Regions from separate parts of the Homo sapiens genome. Here region 1 is linked to region 2. Evidence: promoter capture Hi-C in 16 types of primary human blood cells and fetal thymus (Javierre and others, 2016). All regions are on one chromosome and are shown on one strand. Each heading gives the region's core, a stretch centred on a gene start or on the middle of the fragment in contact. The rest is flanking DNA. Distances are from core to core; before and after follow the strand shown.

Region 1 (5,009 bases), core at 652-3,151, 1.2 Mb before region 2:
CACCTGAGCACAGACTCATAGAAAGCTACTTTGTCTGGCAATGTGCAGAATAGATTGAACAGAGCACAAGTTGGACAGTCCAGGCAAAAGAAACTGAGGCCTAGGCTGAGACGATGGTGGTGGGAATACCAGGGATAGAGCCAAGAGACTTTTGACTGCTAGAATCAAATTAACTGGGTTATAGACTGGATGTGTGTGATGAAAGCCAGGGTAAAAGCCACAATGACTACAAGGTTTCTAATTCGGGCCAGACAGTGAATAGCAAAGTCATCATGAGTCATGATTTATCACTAAAATTTAAAAGGGCAAGTTTGAAACAGTACAGAATTGAGAAACTTTGCCATTCATTTGGGAACTCTACCATCCATTGGCCCATACAGATTCTTATCAAATTTGGTCTTACTCTGGGGACTTAGATTCTTTCAGAGGGGGTAAAATCATAACTGAAAGCTTAAAGAGAGAAGGGGTTTGTGCAGCTCAGAGACACAAAGCTTGGAAACAGGGCCCTTGCCTTGATCGCATGTGAGCATGCCTTTTTTCTTTCATTGGATTCTAAATATCTTCAGAGCAGGAATCATCATTTTTCATTTTGTGTCTTATGAAATTACAACCTCCATCTGTCTGGTACAAAGCAGATGATCAATAAATATTTAATAAATTTCTCTTGATAGAAAATAGTTATTGCTACTCTTTAGTTTAAATTCCTTCTCACTTGTAAAACGAGGGTGATTTGATTTGGGAAAGTCCATACCCTGGAACCACCCGAGATATGTAGTCATCACAGACAACTAAGAAAGTATGTCTAATTAGTCACTACCATTTGACACTACTATTTCTGCTGTACATAATCTGATGGTGCTAGGGAGCCCTCAGACAGAAAAAGAAGAGTATTGACTGAGTTCAGTAAAGTACTTTAAAATGTAAAGCTTTAAAATTGGAAGAGGCAAATTCATACTGTAAACACGCTAAGCACCATGCTATACGCTTTACAGATATCAGCCCTTTAATGCCTCTGATCAGGCCCATGAATAGGCCTGTGATAGTCTTGATTTATGGGTGGGAAAACAGGCTCTCAAAGCTTCAATAACCTTCCAAGGGCCACACAGGGAATAACTGGTGGAATCAGAGTTTAAATCTATTTCTCTCTAGCTAAGAATCTGAACCCAAAACCATTCCCTGAGCCTCCCCAAAAGTTGTCTGCTGGGGTGAAAGGAAGCTGGTGGGAAGATGGTGCCCACCGATGAGACTAACTGAACTTTAGGAGTTAACTCGGAACAACGGATGAGCCATAGAGCTATACCTCCTTCCGAGGGCTTGACACGGGACGAAAGCGCAGAAAGGAGTCAAGGCTGTCTGCTTCCTTGGCGGTGCCCACCAATGCAACCCAGGGAGTGGCACTTGTCTATAAACATATTTGTTTCTTTTTGGGTTTGCTTTCCTCTTTATTTTATAATGAAGATGATTTGAAAAACACCCAATTTATATGTGCTGAACTAAAAAGAAAATAGATCTATTCTCACTTAGGATTTTTAGCTCACAAAATTACATACTCCTGGAGAGCCCAGCAGTGGAGGCAGGGAGTGGCCAATCTGAAGATGAACAAAGAACTGCTCCTGGGAGAAACTGAGGTAGGGGAGCCAAGAAATGCCATGACCGAGGAGAAGCCCCAGTCTGCCTAGAAGAGCTGATCATTTTTGTTTGACCTTAATAGATACTTGCTTAAGTGAGTTATAGGAACAAACAATTTCCCACCAACAACAAGTGATCCACTTTTTTCCATCTTCACCAAAGACAGAAAAAGAGAAAACATGTGTGAATTGAAACATATAAGAAGTACAGTAGATTTAATGAAATTGCCAGAGAGAGGTTTTCTAACCGTCTAGGATTTGTGATGTAGAATTTGCGCAGTTAGGGAAGAATCTGTGGTACAGATTTCGTAGAATCATAAAGCCACAAAACTTTAGAGCTAGAAGGTATCTCATAAGTAATCTACTTTGGTTTATCATGGCATTCTAAAGATAATAAAAAACAAAGACTATATGGTTACTGTAATTACCTAACCGGGACTGTTGTGCAACAATGTAAAATTATGGCCCCAAATTATGCAATACCTAGGAAAATTTTATGAAATAAACAGGATAAGAAACTATAATTATAGCAATGACAATAAAAATCAAAATAATCTAATCATTTTAAAGATAAGGAAAATGAAACTGGATTTTTGGAAACTGGCTTCTCATCTGTCTTGGATTAGAGAAAGATGCTGCTTGAAAGTTTGGCTTTTTAAAAAAAAATCCCCTTGTCATTTAAGGTCATTTCTGGTCTGTCTTTTACTGGCTGACTTCTCTTTGTCTTCCTCCCCTAAACCCTTCCCACTCCCTCTGCCTTAACCTGCAGAATTAATTCTACCTCATCTATATTTGTGCAATACTTTACACACATCTTCATTTTTAAAGAAAAGTTATTAAAAGTACTATATGCCCCAAAATGCAAGAATGGTGTGGCATAAGAAAATCAGTCAATGTAATACACATTATAGAATGAAGGGGAAAACTCACACAATCATCTTCATCGACATAGAAAAGCATTTAACAAAATCCCACACTCTTTCACGATAAAAAACAAAACAAAACAAAACAGAAAACCAGGAGAAGGCAACTTCCCCAGCACCATAAGACGCCTTTATGCTAACATCAAACCCAATATGAAAGACTGAAAGCTTTCCCCCATAAGGTCAGGAACAAGACAAGGATGCCTGTTTTCACCATGACTATTCAACACTGCACTGGAAGTTCTCACCATAAAAAGGAAGGAAACACTGACACGTGCTACAACATGGATGAACCTTGAAAATATTATGCTAAGTGAAAGCAGGTAGACACACAAGGTCACACATTGTATGATTCCATTTATATAAAATATTCAGAATAGATCAATCCTTTGGGACAAAAACAGATTAGTTGTTGCCAGTTCAAGGAGGGAACATAGAAACTGTTTAATAGCTAAGGGGTTTTAGTTTGGAATGGTGACAATATTTTGAAACTTATAGAAATGGTGATTTCGTGACATTGGGAATATGCTAAATGCCAGTAAATTGTCTACTTTAAAATGGCAATTTTTTTTTAGCATTCCACAGTGTGATCCTTTACTACAGCAAGGTGGCTGATTATCAAAAACTGAGAAAAGCAAGAGTGAATACGTTAAAAAGGTTTGTTGCAGATACAAGAAGGTAAGCGGAGGCAAAGATAACTCAGTGCTAGAGGTCTGGATGTGGCTCCTCAAGGAGCTCCCTGCAGCCCGGCTCCTCCAGGATGGCGCTCTGCACACAACCCGGGCAGCATCTGCTTCCCCGGGAAAAGTTACCCATTGACATCAGCTGTGTTTAAGAGCTAATTTTTATGTTAGGTGAATTTCATGATGTAACCAAGTTCAAAAAAATGAGTCCTTTGAAACCCAAATTCAAGGGCGGTAAATATATGTCAATGGGTATTTCCCCACTATATTAAGTACTTACACGCTCATTGTTTCTGCTGTTTGGGGACCTCTCTGCAGCTCCAGCACTTTCCACAGGATTCAATAGGAAAAATAATTGAGCGCCACGCAGCCGGTCCCAGTAATAAAAAGACGTCATTAGCGCGCCATCTCGTGGTAAATATATAAGTTGCAGCAAACCCTCAGGCTGCAGATTTTTTTTTTTTTTTTTTTTTTTTTTTTTTTTTTTTTTTTGTTAAGACAGGGTTAAGCCTATGTTGCCCAGGCTGGAGTACAGTGGCACTATTATGGCTCACTGCATCCTTGACTTCCTGGGCTCCAGCGATCCTCCCACCTCAGCCTCCTGAGTAGCTGGGACAACAGGCATGAGCCACCACGCTAGTTGTTTATTTTTATTTTTTGTAGAGACAAGCTTCTCACTATATTGCTCAGGCTGGTCTCAAACTCCTGGACTCAAGTGATTTGCCTTCCTCGGCCTCCCAAAGTGCTGGGATTGCAGGCGTGAGGCACGGCACCCGACTAGGGAGCAGAGATGAACCCTGAGGTTACTTTCTGTCCTTTCCTCAAGCCAGAGTGGTTTAGGTCACTGGTCATGAATACAAGGATCGGGGTTGTACGCCTTCTCAAAGACCTCATGTTCCTTAACATCAAAATGCTCTGACTTATTCCAGATTCCTTAGGAAACAGCCTGAAGGAAAGCCATGAGTGCAGACTCCCTATGGAACCTGGTCACAGCTTCAGGACATCCTTGGGGAGGTGTCAGCAATCCCCCTGTACCAATGGTGATGGTGTGTAGGGGGGGTCCAGGGAACCTTTTCCCCTACAACCTTCAAGAAAGCAGCTGGTGGCAGGAGTCTTTCTAGAGCAAATACTGTGCAAGAGGGAATCCAAGAGGGCCGATAAGCTGGATTTCTGCACATGTGTCACTGTGTCAGGGGCATCCCCTGCACGGCCACCACTTCTGCCTGTGGGCCATCTGTGGCTTCTCAGGTCCCTTGTAGTAACTGCAACAGCGCTACTGTCATCACAGCTCTTCCAGAAGACAGCTCTGGGTGGTTCCCCACTACTGTATTTGTGAGATCCAAAGGTGTAGCTCTCTGTTGCCTTGTGGATCCGTTATATTTGCAGGCAGTGTTATAGTTCTGAGGGGATTTTGGAAGTGGTGGTTACTTCAACGAAGAGCTTGAGATGAGCATCTCATCTGAGCTTCACAAGTCCTCTGCGAGATAAATAAGGAAGATTATTATAATTCTCTCCATTTCATGCAAGTGTTAAACCCAGGCCTTGTCTTTGTTTAAGGATAGATATAGGCCAGGCACAGTGGCTCACGCTTGTAATCCCAGCACTTTGGGAGGCCGAGGCAGGTGGATCACGAGGTCAGGAGTTCGAGGCCAGCCTGGCCAATATGGTGAAACCACATTTCTACTAAAAATACAAAAATGAGTGGAGCCTGGTGGTGGGTGCCTGAATCCCAGCCACTCGAGAGGCTGAGGCAGGAGAATCGTTTGAACCTGGGT
Region 2 (4,467 bases), core at 1,204-3,703:
CATCTCAAAAAAAGAAAGAAAAGAAACAAAGAAAGAACAAAAAGAAATGTCCACAATAAGCAAATATAGAGAGGTAGAAAATAGGTCAGTTGTTGCCAAGGGCTGCCAAGACTATGAGGGGAAATGGAGAGTTACTGGTAATGTGTATAAGGTTTCTTTTAGAGATTACAAGAATGTTCTAAAGTTATATTATGGTGATTGTTGCACAACTTTGCAAACATACTAAAAACCACAGAATTGAATATCTCAAATAGCTGAACTATATGACATAAATTATACTGCAATAAAACTATTTCAAAAATGCAATTGAATCATAAAAGATAAATTGCTTAGGTCACAGAATTCAGTGAAGCTTTCGAAGAGGTCATGTGTAAATGAGACATGAAGGAACAGCAGGAGCCTGCTGTGTCTATGAAAGGACAGGAGAAAACATTCCAGACAGAGACAGCAGTACACGCAAAGGCAGGGGAGAGCATGGGAAGAGAGCATGTCATGGCATGTACAGTCGTCCCTCAGTCTTCACAGGGGACTGGTTCCAGGGCCCCCGCGGATACCGAAATCCACCCATGCTCAGGTGCCTTATATAAGATGATGCAATATTCTGGTAAAGAATATCCTAAATCCTCCCACAGACCTCCAATCATTTCTAGATTACTTATAATAACACAACATAACTGCTAAATAAATAGTTGGCTGTACTATATTATTTAGGGAATAATCATGGGGGGGTAGTCTGTAGATGTTCAGTACAAATGCAGTTTTTTTCTTGAATATCTTTTACTCCAGGTTGGTTGAATCCACAGTGTATGCGGCACCCACAGATATGGAGAGGCAACTGTATAGTGTGTGTAGTCAATAATGCTGGTACAGAGATTATGGCCTGTAGATGCAGGGCTCCAGTCTGTTGGGGTAGGCAAGGACCAAATCAGAAAGGGCTATTTCATCATGCTAGCTTTCCATGAAGGGAAAGGGAACCCGCTGAAAAACTTTCTGCCAGTAGAAGCATCATTCTAGTATAAACGTTGAAAGGTGATCTGAAGGGAAATGAAACTAGTGATTGCCCAGAAGGAGGAAAAGAATAATCCCTGACTAAATTTATAAAGCCCTTACTCCCCGCTAAGCAGTTTCCTTCAATCATCTCATTTAATCACTAAAATGAGCAATAGTTATCCCCACTTTATAGATGATATCCACAGGGCTTGCTCCCTCACCTCCTGCAGGTCTTCAGGCAAGTATAAGTGCCTCGCACTTTCCTATTCCCCTTGCTTTATTTTTCTCCTGGTTGCTCAACTCAATTTAACATCTGTTTCGCTTTTGAAATCTTGTTTAAAGATTCTCTCCCACACTAGAATGATAAGTCCCTAGGAATAATTTAATTTGTATTTCAGTTCTGTATCCCCAGTGCCCAGGACACAGTCAACCCTCAGTAAGTACATAAATGAATACATTTTTAAAAATGAGGAAATCGGGTCCCATAGAGATTAAGTAACTTGTCCTTGATCGTACAAGTAATAAGTGGCAGAATTCTGATTTAACAACCCACATTCTTAAACCACTAAGTGGTTACACCAGAGTTGTAATATTGTAGGCAAGAGGCAAGTACCCTCGGACTGCGGTAGTGGGGAAGCGGGGTGATAGGTCTGCCTCGAATTGGTGATGACTGGATGTGGAAGGGCGCTGAAAGGGCTCAATCTAGCATGACTTTGGTTTCTACATTTGGCTTATGGGTAAACAGGAGAGCAATTCTTCAGGAAAAAGAATACAAAGGACTCCAGGTTTGGGCAAAACGATAAGAGGAGGACGTGTCTTAATCCACGATCCTTTTTAACTCTTTTACTATTTCCCTTAGATTACTAAAACATGTTGTTAATTTGAATATATGTGAAGCCAGTAAACCCAAACTGATCCCTTCGTCTTCAGTCTGAGGCCAGTGGGGGATAGGGGTGGGGATGGGGACGGGGATGGGGGTGGGGACGGAGAGGCAGACCAGAATAGGGTCAGCTCTTTTTTTTTTTTTAAGTTAGTCCAAACTTACCAAGAGTAGAAATAAGTCCCCAGCAGTGCTTAACTCTGAGGTAATTTTTAAGGCAGATGCTAAAACTGGAGAATACACCGTACCCTTGTGGAGTCAGGTAGTATTCGTAGTTTTAGATTATCCTGACGGTGTTAGTCACTTGTAGAAGTGACAATGTGCAACAGGCCACTGACACCCAATCCCTGGATGGCCAGGAGGGCAGGAGGGCACCCGGCCGCGGCCTCAGGCTGCTGAGCAGGCGCAGGAAGCTCGCGCCTCAAACGACTCCCAAACCCGGGCCCGGCGCGAAGCAGGGAAGCGCCGCTCACATTCCTGCACGCTCGCCCGGCCGCGGGCCAGCGGCCTCCGGTCCCCAGGTGGCGCTGTGGGCTCGCGGAGGCGGCCGCGGCACCAGGGAGCGTCGTCTCCCTGGTGCGCATGCTCGCCCCCGCTGCGGGCTAGCTGTTGTGTTTTTTTTTTTCCCCCGGGCGGCCCGGCGGCTGCGTACTGGCTGTGGGATGGGAAGTGAAGCCCCAGCGAGCGGCTGCAGCGGGGCCGTGAGGAGCAGCCAGCGGGAGGCGGCGGCGAGTCGGTGAGCAGCTGGGAAGAGCAGAACCGGGGCGGAGCACCTGCAGGCGCGGGCGGCGGCCCCACCATGGCGATTCGCAAGAAAAGCACCAAGAGCCCCCCAGTGCTGAGCCACGAATTCGTCCTGCAGAATCACGCGGACATCGTCTCCTGTGTGGCGATGGTCTTCCTGCTGGGGCTCATGTTTGAGGTGAGCCCGCCCCGAGTCCCAACCGCCTGCCCCGCCACCTCCAGCCCGGGCCCGGGCTCCAGATGCCAGCCCCGGCTTCTCCGCCCAGGACGCGGGGGGCTCGGGCCCGGGGTGGGTGCAGACCCCCAGTCCCTGAGGTGCAGGCCTTCCCTGCCCTGCCCCACGTCGGCGGCAGCTCCCCGGCGGCCGGCCCGGAGATGCAAAGTCCCGGTGGGCCTCATCGCGGCCCGCAGGGGGTGGGGACCGCCGCGTCGCCCCCTTCCTGACCCGCCGCCGCCCCCTCCCGCAGGCTGCGCGGCGCAGTTCCTGGTTCCCGCGAAGGGTTACGTGGCAGCCGGCGAGGGGCCTGCGGGCGGGGGCGGCCCCTGCGCTGCCGAGCTGGCTCGGGGCGGGTGGGCGGACTTGGGGGGACTGCCAGCCTCGGCCGCGGTGAGCGTCAGCCCCGCGAGGGCCGGGGAAGGCCGAGGCCCGGCCCCCGGGTCTGAGGAGTGCCGGCCTGGAGACCACAGGCCCCGAGTGACAGGGGAGCCCCCGGTAGCTCCGAGATTGGGGTGAGCGAGAAACCGGAGTCAGGCATCTGCTTTCGACTTGAAGGGCGGTGGCCGCCGGGCACCGGCGCAGTGGAGGCGCGCCAGATTGTTTTCATTTTTGTCTTTTAAACTGATATTATTACCAGTTAACGAACTTTTTGCCCTGACGCTTTAAAGAAACAAGGTCTGATGGATAAATCGAGGTTCTGAACAGCGGTGCCAAGGAATCGAGTAATTTTGTTTCTTGAAGTAGGAGAGGATGGGAATGTCAGGAGTGTGTAAATTCTCTTCCCACGTATCTAGTATTTTGATGACTTATTTAACAGCTGTTGAATGTGGATGATAAACTTTGCAAGGTGAACGAGTAACATCCTACGTTTTTCCCCTCGCTCCCCAATACACACGCTCATTCCTTTGCTTTTTTCCCTTTTTAATTTTTCTCTGGAGCCTTTATGTCTCAGTAAATATACAAATTATTTTGCTCCTGCCTTGTTTTGTCTCCTCTCTCCTGCATGTAACAAGTGAGAGTAGAGATTTTGGAGTATTTTTACGAGTCTGTATTTCCAGAGTCTAGGATAGTGCCTGGGACATAGGAGTGCTTAAAAAAAGATGAGCGACGTTAAGAATCCTTGAGAAAACCTAATGGAATGATATTACCAGTGACCAAAAGGTGAATACATTTTCTTTTTAATGGAGCATATTTGTTTTTTTTTTTAATTTTAAAATTAAATAATATTTTAACCTTATTTTCGCCTCTCATCAAATGGGCTTTTCTGGATCTAGATACAGATATTATTTACTCCTGATTGTGTCATGCATGTTTGAAACCACTGCTAAGGAGGTAGCAGGTATAGTTAAAGGGTAGGTAGAAGGAAACTAACATTCTCAAGCTTTAAGTCTGGGCTGTGCCACCTACCTACTGGGTGACCCAAGTCTGAGCCTCAATTTTTCTGCTCTTTATCAGGAAATAATATCACCTGTACTGTTCTCCTCACAGCCATTTTTTGCAAGTATCAGATGATATGGTGTGAAGGTAAATACAGTGCTAGGCCTGGTGCTCTGGCTTATGCCTGTAAACATCCCAACACTTTGGGAGGCCAAGGCAGGAGAATCACTGGAGCCCAGGAGTTCGAGACCAGCCTAGG

The links. Contacts are between HindIII fragments. The CHiCAGO score rates a contact against its expected background, and 5 or more counts as called.
Region 1: a fragment that was not itself captured here is called in contact with the fragment with the promoter of TRAM1 in region 2 in 1 of 17 cell types (M2 macrophages); the score reaches 6.5 in M2 macrophages.

The regions. Positions count from the first base shown.
Region 1 is chr8:71,826,721-71,831,729 of GRCh38, reverse strand. No RefSeq gene overlaps it. Among named protein-coding and RNA genes, the nearest start is that of MSC-AS1, 14 kb to the left of the region's middle. RefSeq lists enhancers at 234-413, 1-1,189, 4,364-4,423. The HindIII fragment of the contact is 1,641 bases long and covers 1,081-2,721 here.
Region 2 is chr8:70,606,402-70,610,868 of GRCh38, reverse strand. TRAM1 (translocation associated membrane protein 1) reads left to right here and starts at 2,453. Exons shown (of 11, transcript NM_014294.6): 1 at 2,453-2,792. The coding sequence starts at 2,670. LACTB2-AS1 (LACTB2 antisense RNA 1) reads right to left here and starts at 2,292. Exons shown (of 4, transcript NR_038881.1): 1 at 2,036-2,292. RefSeq lists silencers at 2,287-2,456, 2,537-2,586, 2,647-2,706, 2,757-2,936, 2,957-3,406. The HindIII fragment of the contact is 3,860 bases long and covers 355-4,214 here.